3 separate regions of the Homo sapiens genome follow, and all the other regions are linked to region 2. Evidence: promoter capture Hi-C in 16 types of primary human blood cells and fetal thymus (Javierre and others, 2016). All regions are on one chromosome and are shown on one strand. Each heading gives the region's core, a stretch centred on a gene start or on the middle of the fragment in contact. The rest is flanking DNA. Distances are from core to core; before and after follow the strand shown.

What was found. The method cuts DNA at HindIII sites, captures the fragments that hold promoters and counts their contacts. A CHiCAGO score of 5 or more calls a contact.
Region 1: the fragment with the promoter of FKBP7 here is called in contact with the fragment with the promoter of DNAJC10 in region 2 in 3 of 17 cell types (total B cells, naive B cells and M0 macrophages); the score reaches 9.8 in total B cells.
Region 3: the fragment with the promoter of ZC3H15 here is called in contact with the fragment with the promoter of DNAJC10 in region 2 in 6 of 17 cell types (non-activated CD4 T cells, activated CD4 T cells, total B cells and 3 more); the score reaches 16.7 in non-activated CD4 T cells.

Annotation. Positions count from the first base shown.
Region 1 is chr2:178,475,697-178,480,157 of GRCh38, forward strand. It overlaps FKBP7 (FKBP prolyl isomerase 7), which reads right to left and starts at 2,904. Exons shown (of 4, transcript NM_181342.3): 1 at 2,583-2,904; 2 at 1,366-1,517. The coding sequence starts at 2,803. The HindIII fragment of the contact is 11,907 bases long and covers 1-4,461 here.
Region 2 is chr2:182,714,957-182,719,631 of GRCh38, forward strand. DNAJC10 (DnaJ heat shock protein family (Hsp40) member C10) reads left to right here and starts at 1,301. Exons shown (of 24, transcript NM_018981.4): 1 at 1,301-1,527; 2 at 2,060-2,116; 3 at 2,985-3,334. The coding sequence starts at 3,131. It also overlaps a transcript of PDE1A not described here. RefSeq lists enhancers at 784-933, 954-1,023, 1,368-1,972 and a silencer at 1,534-1,693. The HindIII fragment of the contact is 1,821 bases long and covers 34-1,854 here.
Region 3 is chr2:186,484,425-186,488,819 of GRCh38, forward strand. ZC3H15 (zinc finger CCCH-type containing 15) reads left to right here and starts at 1,836. Exons shown (of 10, transcript NM_018471.3): 1 at 1,836-2,033. The coding sequence starts at 1,959. It overlaps LOC105373785 (a long non-coding RNA gene), which reads right to left and starts at 1,576. Exons shown (of 2, transcript XR_001739147.3): 1 at 1,376-1,576. It also overlaps the pseudogene DPRXP1. RefSeq lists an enhancer at 1,466-1,945. The HindIII fragment of the contact is 12,604 bases long and covers 1-4,395 here.

The DNA.
Region 1 (4,461 bases), core at 1,654-4,153, 4.2 Mb before region 2:
TTCTCATAGACTTAAAGGCCATTTGTAGTTTTTTGTTAGTGGGTGCTTATTTATGAATTTGGCCCATTTCTAGGGATATGTCATTTTCATTATTGGTTAGCAAGTCTTCATACATGTTACAAACATTTTTCCCGCTTATTTGCTTTACCTAGGTTTTCAGATCTTTTTGCTGTAGGATTTTTAAAATGACAAGATATTGAAAGAATAAGATCATTTCTTGCACATTTGAAGGCTTGTCCTGTATTGGGGTAATAATGACTGACAGCCCATTATATCTCAGCTGTTCCTTTTACAATGTGCCCGTCCTGTCCTTTTACTCTAAACCTACATGTTCCAGTTTCTGAGTTTTATGAATTTAACTTTGGTACTGCTTACCAAAGATCTGTGTTATAAATATTTATGTAATAATAACATATGCTGAAAACAAATAAAAATGCTTAAGGTAGAGCTTATAGAATATATATAATCATCATGAGTGTTGCCACAATGTAGAAGAAAGAACTCTGGCCAGAGATCTATATTCAAACAATGTCATATTATCCTTATAAGCAAAAAGAAGGGACTGGACTGAACTAGATAGAGCTTAAGGTCATTGGGCTTTACTGTTCTCTTTATTTCATCTATCATTTTTTATTTCACTTTTTTGTTTTTAATTGTGGTAAAATACACATAACATAAAATTTACCATCATAACAATTTTCAAGTGTGTTGTTCAGTAAAGTACGCTTACACTACCATGCAACCAATCTCCAGAACTCTTCATCTGGCAAAAATGAAACTCTATACCCATTGGTCAACAATTCCCCTTTTCCCTCTCACTTCAGCCTCTGGCAATCACCCTTCTACTTTGTCTCTATTAATTTGACTACTCCAGGTACCTCACATAAATGGAATTATACAGTATTTGTCTTTTTGTGACTGGTTTATTTCATTTAGCATAATGTCCTCAAGGCTGATACATGTTGGTGCATGTCTCAGAATTTTCTTCCTTTTTAAGGCTGAATAATATTCCATTTCATTTTTTTTTTTTTTTTTTTTGTAGAGCAGGGTCTTGCTGTTGCTCAGGCTGGTCCTGGCCTCAAGTGATTCTACCACCTTGGCCTCCCAAAGTGTTGGGATTACAGGCATGAGCCACTGTGCCTGGCTTCCATATATGCATGTATTCATTTTGTTTATCCATTTCTCTATGTATGGACATGTGGCTTGCTTCCATCTCTTGTCTATTGTACATGGCTGCTATGAGCATGGCTGTACAAATATTTCTTTGAGACTGTGCTTTCAATTCTTTCAGACCTATATACCCAGAAATCTATTAATCATTTTTTAAATATAACTAAAACAAGAAATTAAAATTAAACATCTTACCATAGCCTTCCTTTCCGTATGCAAATGAAGGGGGTATAACTACTTTTCGCTTTTCTCCAGGGCACATATCTGTCATAGCAATGTCTAGGCCTTTTATGACTTGCCCAACACCAAGAACAAACCATTTGGGGTGGCCTTCATTTTGTGTCCGGCTATAACAAAAAGCAATACTTAAGTAAACTGATTTCAAGAAATCAAACTTGAAAATACAGCTGGGCATTTAAAATTGGAGTCCTCTCTAACCATCATTCCCATATAATCACTCTTTCTAAAACCCTTAATGGGGTGTTTGACTCAAACTTCCCTATAATCACCAGAAAGAAGTATGATTTGCCCAAAGTTAATCATTAACAGCCATCTCATTTTTTAAAATTGTTATCTTTACAAAAACTATTCAACAGTTAACTTTTTAATGGGTCTCCAGCCCCTAACTAGGTGCATGGCTTGTACAAAGAACTCATTTAACTCCCTGGGTTTGTTGTAAAAAAATGATAGGGCAGTTTTAGCCTCAAAAAGTCATTTTAATAGTAATTTAAAATGGTATATTTTCTTATTAAATTCTAATGATATAATTTATTAAATTCTTATTAAATTATAAAATTGTATAAATTCTTATTAAATTTCTCTATTTTATTCTAAATGGATGGAACTGTTTTTCCCAGTCCTATCTTTACAGGGTAAAGAAAAGATTCTCCCTCTGAGTAATAAGCCATCAATTAAATCAGAGTAGGCACCAGGTGGAATGAGGGAGCAGGGCCCACCAGAAGTCACCAGGGAAGTAACTGTTTTTCTTGATAGAAAGTGGCCACAACCTATAAAAATCGTGCTTCTGAAGGCCAGAATTAAATCTCTTTATTCCATGTATTCCTCCGTAAAGACTCAATACTTCTGGCAAGGGAAAAATGTGAACATCCTTATAGGCAGAACCTTGATTTAATTCTGGAGGTCCCAAGGGTAATGGTGGTGGTTGATGTGTGTGTGGATGTATCGTATTTTTGATAATTTATTGCCACAACATTTTCAATACTTTAAATAAAAATATTCAGTTTATTAGAGAAACACTGCCATATAATGTGATTTTTTTTAATGAATAAAGGGCTCAACTTTTACCGTTAAAAAATAAAACCCCAACCAACCAACCAATGAGGCTTCCGCTTGGTGGAGGCAGGCAAGATTTTGTGCAACTGGACGCACGGGCAGCTCGCAGCATTTCCTACCTGCAGTAGAATTTCGAGCCGTCTTTAGCCAGGTAGCCGTCATAATGGGCATTTAGTAGGTCTCCCTTCTTGCTTGTCTTAGAGCAGTTTTCTGGACGATGCAAAACTTCTATTTTCACTTCTTCGGTGCTCTCCTCTTTCTTTTGTCTCTGAGCAGTAAAAAGGCCCCACAGATAAAAGAAAACAATGAATCTGAATAAGAAATGCATGGTTTTTGGCATCGGCTCCAGCAGAACACTGCTCTCCCTCCCGCGTGTCACTCGCGCCCCGTGGATGTCCCGCGGCCGAGTTCCGACGCGTGGCAGGCGTTGTCCTGCGTCACAAAGGGCCGGGGCGGGGCCATAGATGCGGCCCCGCCCTCTCATGGCCCCAACCCCTCCGCCTCCCGCAGCGGGCTCAGCGCGGTTAACGCTGTTTCTAGGCCCTCGGGCTGGCTGTCCTCAGTCTTTAAGATCGCAACGCACACTCGCTCCGCTTCTTCTCGCTAAACCCGCGTATTTTACAGCAGGTTTCCTCAGGGTTCGGTGACAACATTCGCATTTTCTAAAATGAAACTGGCATAAGACGAAATAAACAGCCTGGGATGTCGTAGAGTCAGGGAATATGGTTGTCATTTCTGGAAGCAAAAGGCTTCTAAGACCCCTAGGGAACGAGCAGATAGATACTGGGGGGAGGGAGAGGCATGCTGGAAAAGGAGCGTAAAAAATAGGCTGGCGGTGGCTTTCTGGGTGCTTCGGAGGTGTCCTTGAAGCGCATTCTCAGGTCGGAATCTTGCATTCAGAGGTTCCAGGCTGAGTCGCACAACCTGAAGGCCAGCCCGATGCAACGAAACTGCGGTACCGCAACTCCTCTGCCTGGCTGCAGGCGTTTCCGAGAGCCGACCTCCACAATTCAGCATCCTCCGCTGGCTTGCATTTCTTTTCCCCGCCACTCGGGGCCGCCCTTGATTCGAGGGCCTCTGGTAGTGCGGGGAATGTTCTTTTGACTTTTTTGTACCATCCCATGGGATACGTAATTGTCCACATCAGTCAAGAAAACTTGAGTATTGGGCATGTTGTCCCAATCTCACAGCTAATACGCAGCAGGGATTTGGTCAAATCTGTGTGACAACACCACTTCACCACCAATTTTAGTATGAAAACCTTTAAAATACACAGAAAGTTGAATTCTACAGTAAACTCTCCTACACCCACCATCTGGATCCTGTCATTGAACTATATTATATTTATTACATATCCATCCATCACTCTATCCATCCATCAATTCGCCTTGTTTCCAAGTGAATACCCAAAGACTACCCAAACCAGAAAACCAGCAAAGGCCTTCTGCATTCGCCTGGATTAAGTTCTGGGAGTAGAGGTGCTATTCTACCTCGGTGATGCGAAGAAAAGCCGCAGCACTGAGCCTGATTGATGTGCTTTGCTTAAAGTTTGCAAAATTCCATAAACCTGAAAATTACTGTCGATTATGCAAGATGACAATTGCGTCCAAGCAGGAGTTTCAAAAATCATAAAAGCTAGGGGGAAGTCCCCATTTCTAGACTAAAATTCCGAAGTCGAGTTCCATGTTTTATATTCTAAATAAAATTGTGGCTATCCAAGGTTATCGGCGTGATGACAGTTCCTTGGGGGCCCTCGCCATTCCTTGTCAGAGGACCCCGTCTGCTGCACATTGCCTTCCTAGGAGATAATTTCAGACCCCTTGAATATGAGGAAAATACGAAGCAAACAGAAATAGGAAGGCTTTTATGTATTTTTGAAGAAAAAACAGGATTTTATGTAAAATAAAAACAGGATTTCATGAAGAAACAGGATATTATGTATTTCTGAAGAAAACCCAGGAAAACCCGAGAGAACTAAGTGCCCGCGGGATGAGTGTG
Region 2 (4,675 bases), core at 51-2,550:
GATCTAAAATACAATCTCAGTCTCTTTTTTAAAAGCTTCCTCATCACCTAAGAGATAGAAATCTATGTCTTCATCTTGGTATAAAAACCTGTCTGTGATCTGGTCCCTGCTTCATCTTCCAGTTTTCTGTTTGTTTTTCAATTTACTTTAAGATTTTGTTACAGTGTGTAACAAAATGGTTACACACTGTGTCATAATGCTTAACATCATAGTCTCTGAAGCCAGGTTGCTTAGATGTGAATCCTAGCTCTCAAATATTTGCCTCAGTTTCCTCAAATGGGAAATAGATATAGGAGCCACTATCTTGTAAGATTATTTGGAGGACTAAATGAGTTACTACATGTGTGCTTAGACCAGTTCCTGAGACATATTAACTACTATTACATCAGGCTGCTTCTAATGTTTGCCTTTGTTCATTCTACTTCCTCTTCTTTCCTACCAAGTATTAGCTTAGCCATAGATCCTGTGTAGTTTTCCAAGTTTTTAGAAGCTGACACTTGATTTACTCCCCGAAACTGTTACCAATCACAACTTATTTCATGTTAGGGTTGATGTTATAAGCAGGTATCCTCTAGGCTCGGTTTTCTCTTTTAAATATAGAAAATGTAGTAAATATAACCACTTCAATTGTTATATTGCTGTGGGACAAAATGCAGTTCCTGTACCATAGCAGTAGGAGATCAAGGTAAGAGAGAACAACGATAACTCCCCAGTTTCTAGCTTGTATGACTCAGAATCCAGAAAATATTGTAGAAGTCTCAAATGCTTGTTGATACACACGCTTACACAAAATTGTAAATGTTTTAATTTCCTTCAAGTTTCCTACTGCCTCTTCAGTCCGCTAGCCTGATACTGCAATCAGTGTCGCTTCAGGCAACTTCTCCTTTCTCCGCCAAATTTCGCCTTTCGGTCTCACCCACCCATCACCCAGACAAATCCTCCAAAGCTCCGTCTTCCCTTTAAAAGACTCTCAGGGAACTCAACCCCAAAACCCACCCTCTGGGTTTCCCCGTCACCCTGGCAACGGAAGCAGGAAGAGGCGGGCTTCGCCATCCACCCTCCCCGCCCGCGGCAGGCGCCGGCCGCATTGGTGAGGGGGCGCGGGCTGCTTGGCCAGGGCAGTTCCCTCAGCTCCGGGTTGGAGCCGGAGCCGGAGCCGGATCCCGCGCACACCGCCACGTCAACCTAAACCTACACCGCCCTCTCCACCCCACCGCCGCAGCGCCCGCTGGGCCCGCAGCGGGTCTCCCCAGGCAGCGTCCTCCACGCCTTTCCCACAATGCTCCGCGCCAGGCCCCGCCCCGGCTCGCCGTGGAGACCGGCGCGTGAGGAACCTACCGGTACCGGCCGCGCGCTGGTAGTCGCCGGTGTGGCTGCACCTCACCAATCCCGTGCGCCGCGGCTGGGCCGTCGGAGAGTGCGTGTGCTTCTCTCCTGCACGCGGTGCTTGGGCTCGGCCAGGCGGGGTCCGCCGCCAGGGTTTGAGGATGGGGGAGTAGCTACAGGAAGCGACCCCGCGATGGCAAGGTGGGCATGGGCCCGGGGCTAGGGCTTTGCTGGAGCCGGTGGTGGCCTGGGCCCTCCGGTCAGGGAGGGGCGGAATGGCTGAGCGCCTGAACCTCCCTTCCTGTGCGCTCTTAAGACCTGGATATTGTGTTCTCGCTCCCCACCTTCCTCCTCCCTGTTATTCACACCACCCTTCCTCTGCCCAGCGATTCCCTCTCAGTTACTTACACTTTCTCCCTAAGTCCGACCTGAGACTTCAGACACCAGCAACACTTAACAGCCCTGTTCCCCCGTGTCTTCATCTTTACCCCTCTCCCCTCTCCCACTCTGCAGTGATGGCAATGCGAAAGCTTGCGCCTTGCATTTACCTGGCGCTTCCACCTGCCCGGTAGCTCGGGCCACGGGCAGTTCGGCCACACCCACGCTGAGAACAACCCCTGGGCGAGAAACATCTTATCCCAAAGTGTTGATTGAGACTATGCCCTCTCTTTTTCTGATGGTTGTTTTCTTGTTTGGATACTTGTTAATCTCTACATCATTATATTTTTCAAAGGTATATTTTTGTGGAATGAAAAGGAAGTATTAGAAATGAGCTGAAGACCATTCACAGGTAAAGAGAAAAATTTTTAAATATACATTTAGGATTAAATGAAAAACAGAAATGAGGTGCGAGGAGCGTTAGATTTTTCAAAGCATTACGATCTCTTTGGAACTAAAATATAGTGGTTGAAATGTGATATGATGAAGTAATGATTGTTTTTGCCCTGCAGAGAGTATGTCTAAATAACCGATTCCCTTCTCTTTTTGTGTTTTGTTTCTACTTACACCAAACATGAACTTTGCAATAAAATTACACTGGTAACTTACAATTGTTTTTCTACTATTTTTAAAAAATGGCCTCTACTTAAATTCAGTATAAGCACCTTCTGAGGAAACTCCGGGAAGAAGATCGACTGCTGTGTAGATTGTCTATTATAACAATATATTTCACTGTCATTTCTGGTAGGGTTATATGAGAAGTAAAAAACCCTATGTTTCCTTCTAGTCCCTCCCAAGGACATTTCCTACAAGTGAATTCTGCTGAAAATGAAAATTAGACAGCTTTAGGAGGTAAAGAAGTAGCTAAAAGGAAGAGGTATTACAGGCAACGCTATAACTGGGTAGAAAGAGGAAGCACCTGTAGCTCATTGCCACCTTTGTGTTCTGATGCTCGTCAGAGGTCTTTTCTCAGTGTATAAATTGCTGAGGGTGTGTGTGCAAGCTACTTACTACCACTCATGACCTTTTTTCTGCTATCTTCAGTGATTTCACAAATCTAGCTACATGGATGTAGAAAGAGTGAAAAATAGAACCTGGGGCATTCACACTGATTTGCCATTTAATGGAGATTGTATTGCTGACCATGTTCTGTGATAAATAAATTGTGCTATTATTGTTTAGTTCAAAATGTATTTTAACTGCCTGCTTTTCTTTCTTAGATTAATATTTTTGGGGACAGATTTGTGATGCTTGATTCACCCTTGAAGTAATGTAGACAGAAGTTCTCAAATTTGCATATTACATCAACTGGAACCAGCAGTGAATCTTAATGTTCACTTAAATCAGAACTTGCATAAGAAAGAGAATGGGAGTCTGGTTAAATAAAGATGACTATATCAGAGACTTGAAAAGGATCATTCTCTGTTTTCTGATAGTGTATATGGCCATTTTAGTGGGCACAGATCAGGATTTTTACAGTTTACTTGGAGTGTCCAAAACTGCAAGCAGTAGAGAAATAAGACAAGCTTTCAAGAAATTGGCATTGAAGTTACATCCTGATAAAAACCCGGTAGGTAAACGTTTGTTTTTAAAAATATTTGATTATATTTTTGGTACATTTTGATATTTATTTAAATTGCTTTAAATGATCAAATGCTTAAGAATAATCATATGTCAAAATTATAATTCAACTTGTATGCTAGAAACAAAAGCACCAAAATGTTCTGGATTATTTAGGATCCCGTGAAGGAATGTCAGTACCAAAAATTCAGTTCCCTCTTAATTTGTAGACGATTTTCCAACAATTCTATTAAAGACATTAACCCCAAAACAAACGATAATATCCGTGAAGTAGTTGAAGTAGTTTTCTTATTAAAGTAGGTTAAGATCAAGTGTTTTAGAACAGGAACAAAAATATTTTTTTAAAACTCAGAGGGTATGACTTGCTAAAAATAGAAGTAATAGCTAATAATAGCATGTTTTAACTTTGACTGTTTTCTTCTGTGTATGCACAAGTCCACAAACCAGAGTTAGAAAGTTTTATAAATTAATACTTCACAGCAGCTGAATATAATGCCAGTCATAAATATTTATGTACACATTAATGTAAATCTTTCAAAACTAAACTCATTTTAATTTTTATGGTGTTTTTGTAATTTATTTGATTATTTCTTAGTGAGATTTAGCGTTCATCATTAACAAGAAGACATAGTTATAATTTTCTCTTTTCTAGGTAGAAGTTTTAAAATAGGATTATTTTCATTGCATAAAGCTGAGCAAGAGAAACAATATTTCTTTAAATATTGTTTAGTTGATTATCTTTTCCTAAGATCCACATTCTATTTAAGGTTTTTATTTTTTTTTAATTTTTCTTTAAAATTTCAAATAATGATTTTTAAGTTTCCATATAAAAGACAGTAGACCTTCTACCATCCGAGTATTATTTAAATGAAAGCATCCTTCAGAAACAAATTTTATGAAGCACAGTAACAAGGAAGAAACATTTCCGATCCAATTTTGGATTGTTTTCTTTTTTTTTTTTTTTTTTTTTTTGAGATAGGGTCTCACTCTCTTGCCCAGACTGGAGTGCAGTGACGCCAGCGGCTTCCTGCAACTTCTGCATCACAGGCTTAAGCAATTCCCCTGCCTCACCCTCCTGAGTAGCTGGGATTACAGGCGTGCGTCACTACTGCCCAGCTAGTTTTTGTGTTTTTAGTAGAAACGGGGCTTCACCATGTTGGCCAGGCTGGTCTCGATCTCCTGACCTCAAATGATCCACCCTCCTCAGTCTCCCAAAGTACTGGGATCGATTTTGGGGTGTTTTCTGATACTGGCTTTTATGTAATTAGCTGATAGATTGGGGCACATCCTTTTTTAATTAAGTTGATTTTACCTCAAATAGAAAAATAAC
Region 3 (4,395 bases), core at 586-3,085, 3.8 Mb after region 2:
GAAGAAATAGTGTACGAGGGAGAGTGCTATAAGAGCATGTACTATATTCAGAAATGTGTATTTTCCACTTGAGGCAAGAAAGGATCTTTGTTCTCTACCTGGGCTACACTTCAGAGGAAAAAACCGAAAGCAAAGGTCAGGAGACAGAAGAAGTTATGAACCATGAAACTGGAGCCATTATCATAACATTATGAGACTCTAGATTCTTTGTAACTTCCCCATATTTGTTACTTATAATTCATTTGCCTCATAATAATAATCAGTAAAATTACTCAAAATCAAAGGCCCAAAGGGCATCTTTGGGGCACTAAAAGTAGGAAGTTAAGACAACTACATTCCATATGCAAACAAAGTCTCAAAGGAGACGATCCCCAAATAATCAAATGGATAATAATACTGAGTAAAGAGGGGGCTGGCTGCATCCCTCCATCCTCTGACAAGAACTATGACAATTACAAAAAATAAAGATGAAAATATGTAAAAGGGGGGGAGCCCATTAACCTGCCAATATGAGCCCAAATGAAAAAAAGTGTGTCAACATACACCTGCCATTCTCGACACAATTCTTTTTAGTAGCTATCACATTTCTTCTACACACACACATACACACACAAAACATACTTGGGGTTCCTTGACATTATCTTACGTAGAAAATTACTAAGCAAATAATCAATTTGACTAAGTAGGGGGGCTTATCGTTTTCTCCCTATTCAAATTAATGAAAAAGATAAAAAAACTTTTATCTATAAAGATGATTCTTGGTTCCACAATGCTTCTTAACAGAAATAGTTTAAACAATAATCATTTTAAAAAATAACAGCTAAGCATTGTACATTTTTAAAAAATAGTATTTTCGTTTGTACAAATATCAATGGGTCCCATTCATCATTCAAGTACCTTTTCAAACAGGATCTAAGTTTGTAATGTTAGGTAATAGGCATATAGGCTGAAGCCGGACTGCCAAGATTACAATTGCTGGCTCTGTCCTTAATATAACTTTGGGCATCTTTCTTCCTTTCTCTGCTTCATCTATAAAACGAAAACAGTAACAACTCCCACCTAAGTGTCGTTGTGATAACTAAATGAAATAGTGTGTGTAATGTGCCAAGGAATTTCTGGAGCTACCAAGCACTTAAACTAAGTTCTAACTAAGTTTGGTTACTTTCACGTTATAAAGGAATTTTTAGGAATCACCTAGGCACTCTCCTAAAGTCTCAAAATAACTTAATACAGTACTTCTAAGGAGTTCAAGTGCCTCCTTATCTGGGACGCCATCTCAGATGCTCTTCAAATGAAAGGGACCCTGCAAATGAAAGTTAACTTTTTCCATTTTTTAAATAATCCTTCGCAGGAATCTGAAGCACGCGACACTCACGGGCCATTCAGCTCCGCCTCTCCAGGGAACAAGAAGGTTAACTGAGTAACGTGGTCACGGAGCAACCCCGAGTCGCTGCGGCTGCTTAGTAGTCACTCAGGATGGGGATGGTACAGGGGACCATTAACTGGCCCGGCAGGAAAAGTTTCCCGGTGAGGTGACGATGGACAAGAGTCGCCCCATCGTAAGCGAAAGTGGACTGAGAGGAAGCACAAACGCATGGACTCAACCAGCTCGCCCAGATTCACCCTCAGGCCTTTTGCCATCTGAAAAGGGCCTATCGGATGCGCGACATCACGAGTGACGCGTAGTCATTTTCCCACGTCCCGTCCCTGCCCCCTCCTAGTGGGACGCAGTGGGCGCGCACGCGCAGCTCCGCTTCCGGGAGCCGCTCCTCGCTACCCACTATGCTCTGCGACATCGACCTGTCGCAAAGGCCGCGTTTGCGGGGCCAATGAGCGACTCGCTTTCCGTGCGGTGCGGCGAGTGAGGCCCCGGTCTTCCTCCTCGTCCTGCCGCAGGGCCAGAACCCCTGACGGTATTCAGCTGCGCGTAAGTCTGGCCGGTGCCATCTGTCTCCGCAATGCCCCCCAAGAAACAGGCTCAGGCCGGGGGCAGCAAAAAGGCGGAGCAAAAAAAGAAGGAGAAGATTATCGAAGTGAGTACCCACCCCTCCCCCACTCACGCCGCGAGCCCTCCGGAAAGCCACTTCCCCGCTCCGGGCTTCCCTGGGAGCCGGCTCGCTTCCTCGGGCCACGTGTTCCTCCCTTAGGCCTGTGTGGCCCACTGCCCCTTCTCCAGCCCCTGATGACGCTAGCTCTCTCATTACTATAGTGACGCTGCTGGCGCCCCCGCACCTGGGCTTTGCCTCTCCGCCCACACGCCCGTGTTCACCCACCCATGCACCCGGGTGCGAAATGACCCCTCGGGACTGGCACAGGGTTTTATCCTTCGCTAGTCCTCTCAGAATTGAGGAGATTTTCCAAGGTTATGTGTGAAGAAATACGCTGAACGGTCTCGGGCCAGCGTCTTTCTGGAAGACCGACTCATGACGAGTCTTTGTGTTCGTTATTTCTTTACCCGTCACCCAGGGATGGTACTGTTAGTTCTTTTGAACCAACAAATTACGACTTGGTGGCTTTTTCGATCCACCTCTGAAATGTTTAAAGTCCCATAAAGAATGGAAGGACTTTCCGTCACAACCCAGGGTCTTGAACGCAGAGCTTGGTACTTACATTCTGAAGTGGATTAAATAGGATAACGCCTTAAAAGAGATTAGGTTTCAGTGTCACTAATTGTGTGAAGTCCCGTAACCCAGTTTGAGATATATGTGTGTGTGTGCGCGTGTATATATGTATACATCTATGTGTGTGTATATGTGTATATATGTGTGTGTATATATATTCGTTTAACACATTGAGCCTGTAGCCCTTTAATGGCCAAGGAACGCTATTGACGTTCTTACATGTTGTGCACTTGTTTTCCAACAACTGAATTGAGTTTCCTTAAAAGATGAACCATATTTGACATTACGTAAACATACCATACAGACCCCAACGAGGTATTTCTTCCCTCGATTTCTGCTATTAATCCTCCTCATAATTAAATAGGACCTCTTGTACTTTGGATATAATTAGAAAAAGCCATGACCATTTTACCGCATAAGGTGTAAAGTCTGCTCATTGGATTTAAGAAAATGCTTAAGAATTTTGCTATACTTGGCCAGGTTCCAACTTTGGAGGAGAACTGGTATTCTTATTGCCAATTTGTACAGTTTAAAACTGTCATGAAGTACTATAGCCAGACACTTAAAAACAAAATATTACCTTCACATCTGTGTTTTCTATTACCTTATTTGAACAATCTGGATTCGTGGCACTTAGGTAAATTTCAGGGGTTGCTGATCGGATGGCATTCACTTTTATGAAAACCAAGGACATTTTAGGGATGTCGTTTTCCTCGAGATTGGACCCTGATACGAAGTAAAACTCCCATTGAAATTAAATGTTATGTAATAATTTAGACAATTTAAATTATACTTCATGCATTGTAGAGCTTTCTCTATATCTAATTGTTTTATTTTTAATTAGTAGGACTAGTATTCTTATTTTAAGGAATTATGTGTGAAAGTTGTTTATAGTATCCATCAACTTTTAAAATGATGCATATGTTATGATTCTAGTCATCTTGTGACGAAATTATTTTTTAGCTAAAGAGAAAGCAATTTTAGTTTCAATAATGAAGGTATCTCCAAAGAAAAATGCAAAATAAGACAACTGCACTTTTTAACTAAAAATATTAACAACAACAAAGTGGTGAAATTAAGCCCGATTTTGTGTTTTCTACATTTAATATATATTATTTTTTTAATTTATTTTTTGTTGAGGTATAACTTATGTAAAATAAAATGTACAGGTTCTAGATGTATAGTTCTATGTGTTTTGAGGAATTTATTCACCCAGGTAGCTGCCACCCTAATTAAGACTTGAAACATTTCTATCACCCCACTAAATTTGTTTTGTGCCTCTTTCTATTTAATTCTTTCCACACGTGCAGCCACTAATTTTTTTGACAGGATAGATTAGTTTTTACCACTCTAGGAACTCATATAAATTATACAGTAGGTAGCCTTTGTGTCCTTCTTCTTGCTTTCACACCATGCAGTGTTTTTGAGATCCATGCATGTTGTGTATATTTCTAGTATGTTCCTTATTGCTGAAAAGTATTCTCTTGTATGGGAACCATTACAATATGTCACCTTTTGTGTTTAGTGTCTCTCTCTACTTGGAGGAACCAAAAGACGTTATAATTGACGCTTGAAAAACAAACTTAGGATTCCAAAATGGGTTAGAGGCGGTGTTTGTTAAAATCTCGGCAGCCAGAATGGATTATTTTGTGGCTAATGGAGTCATCTGTAGGGACCTTAACCTTGGGGCATACGCTGAGTTGGCATGAGAGTGTCCAATCATCTGTATACATTAGAGCTACAGGATAGGCATCATTAGGGGATCTGGGTGGTG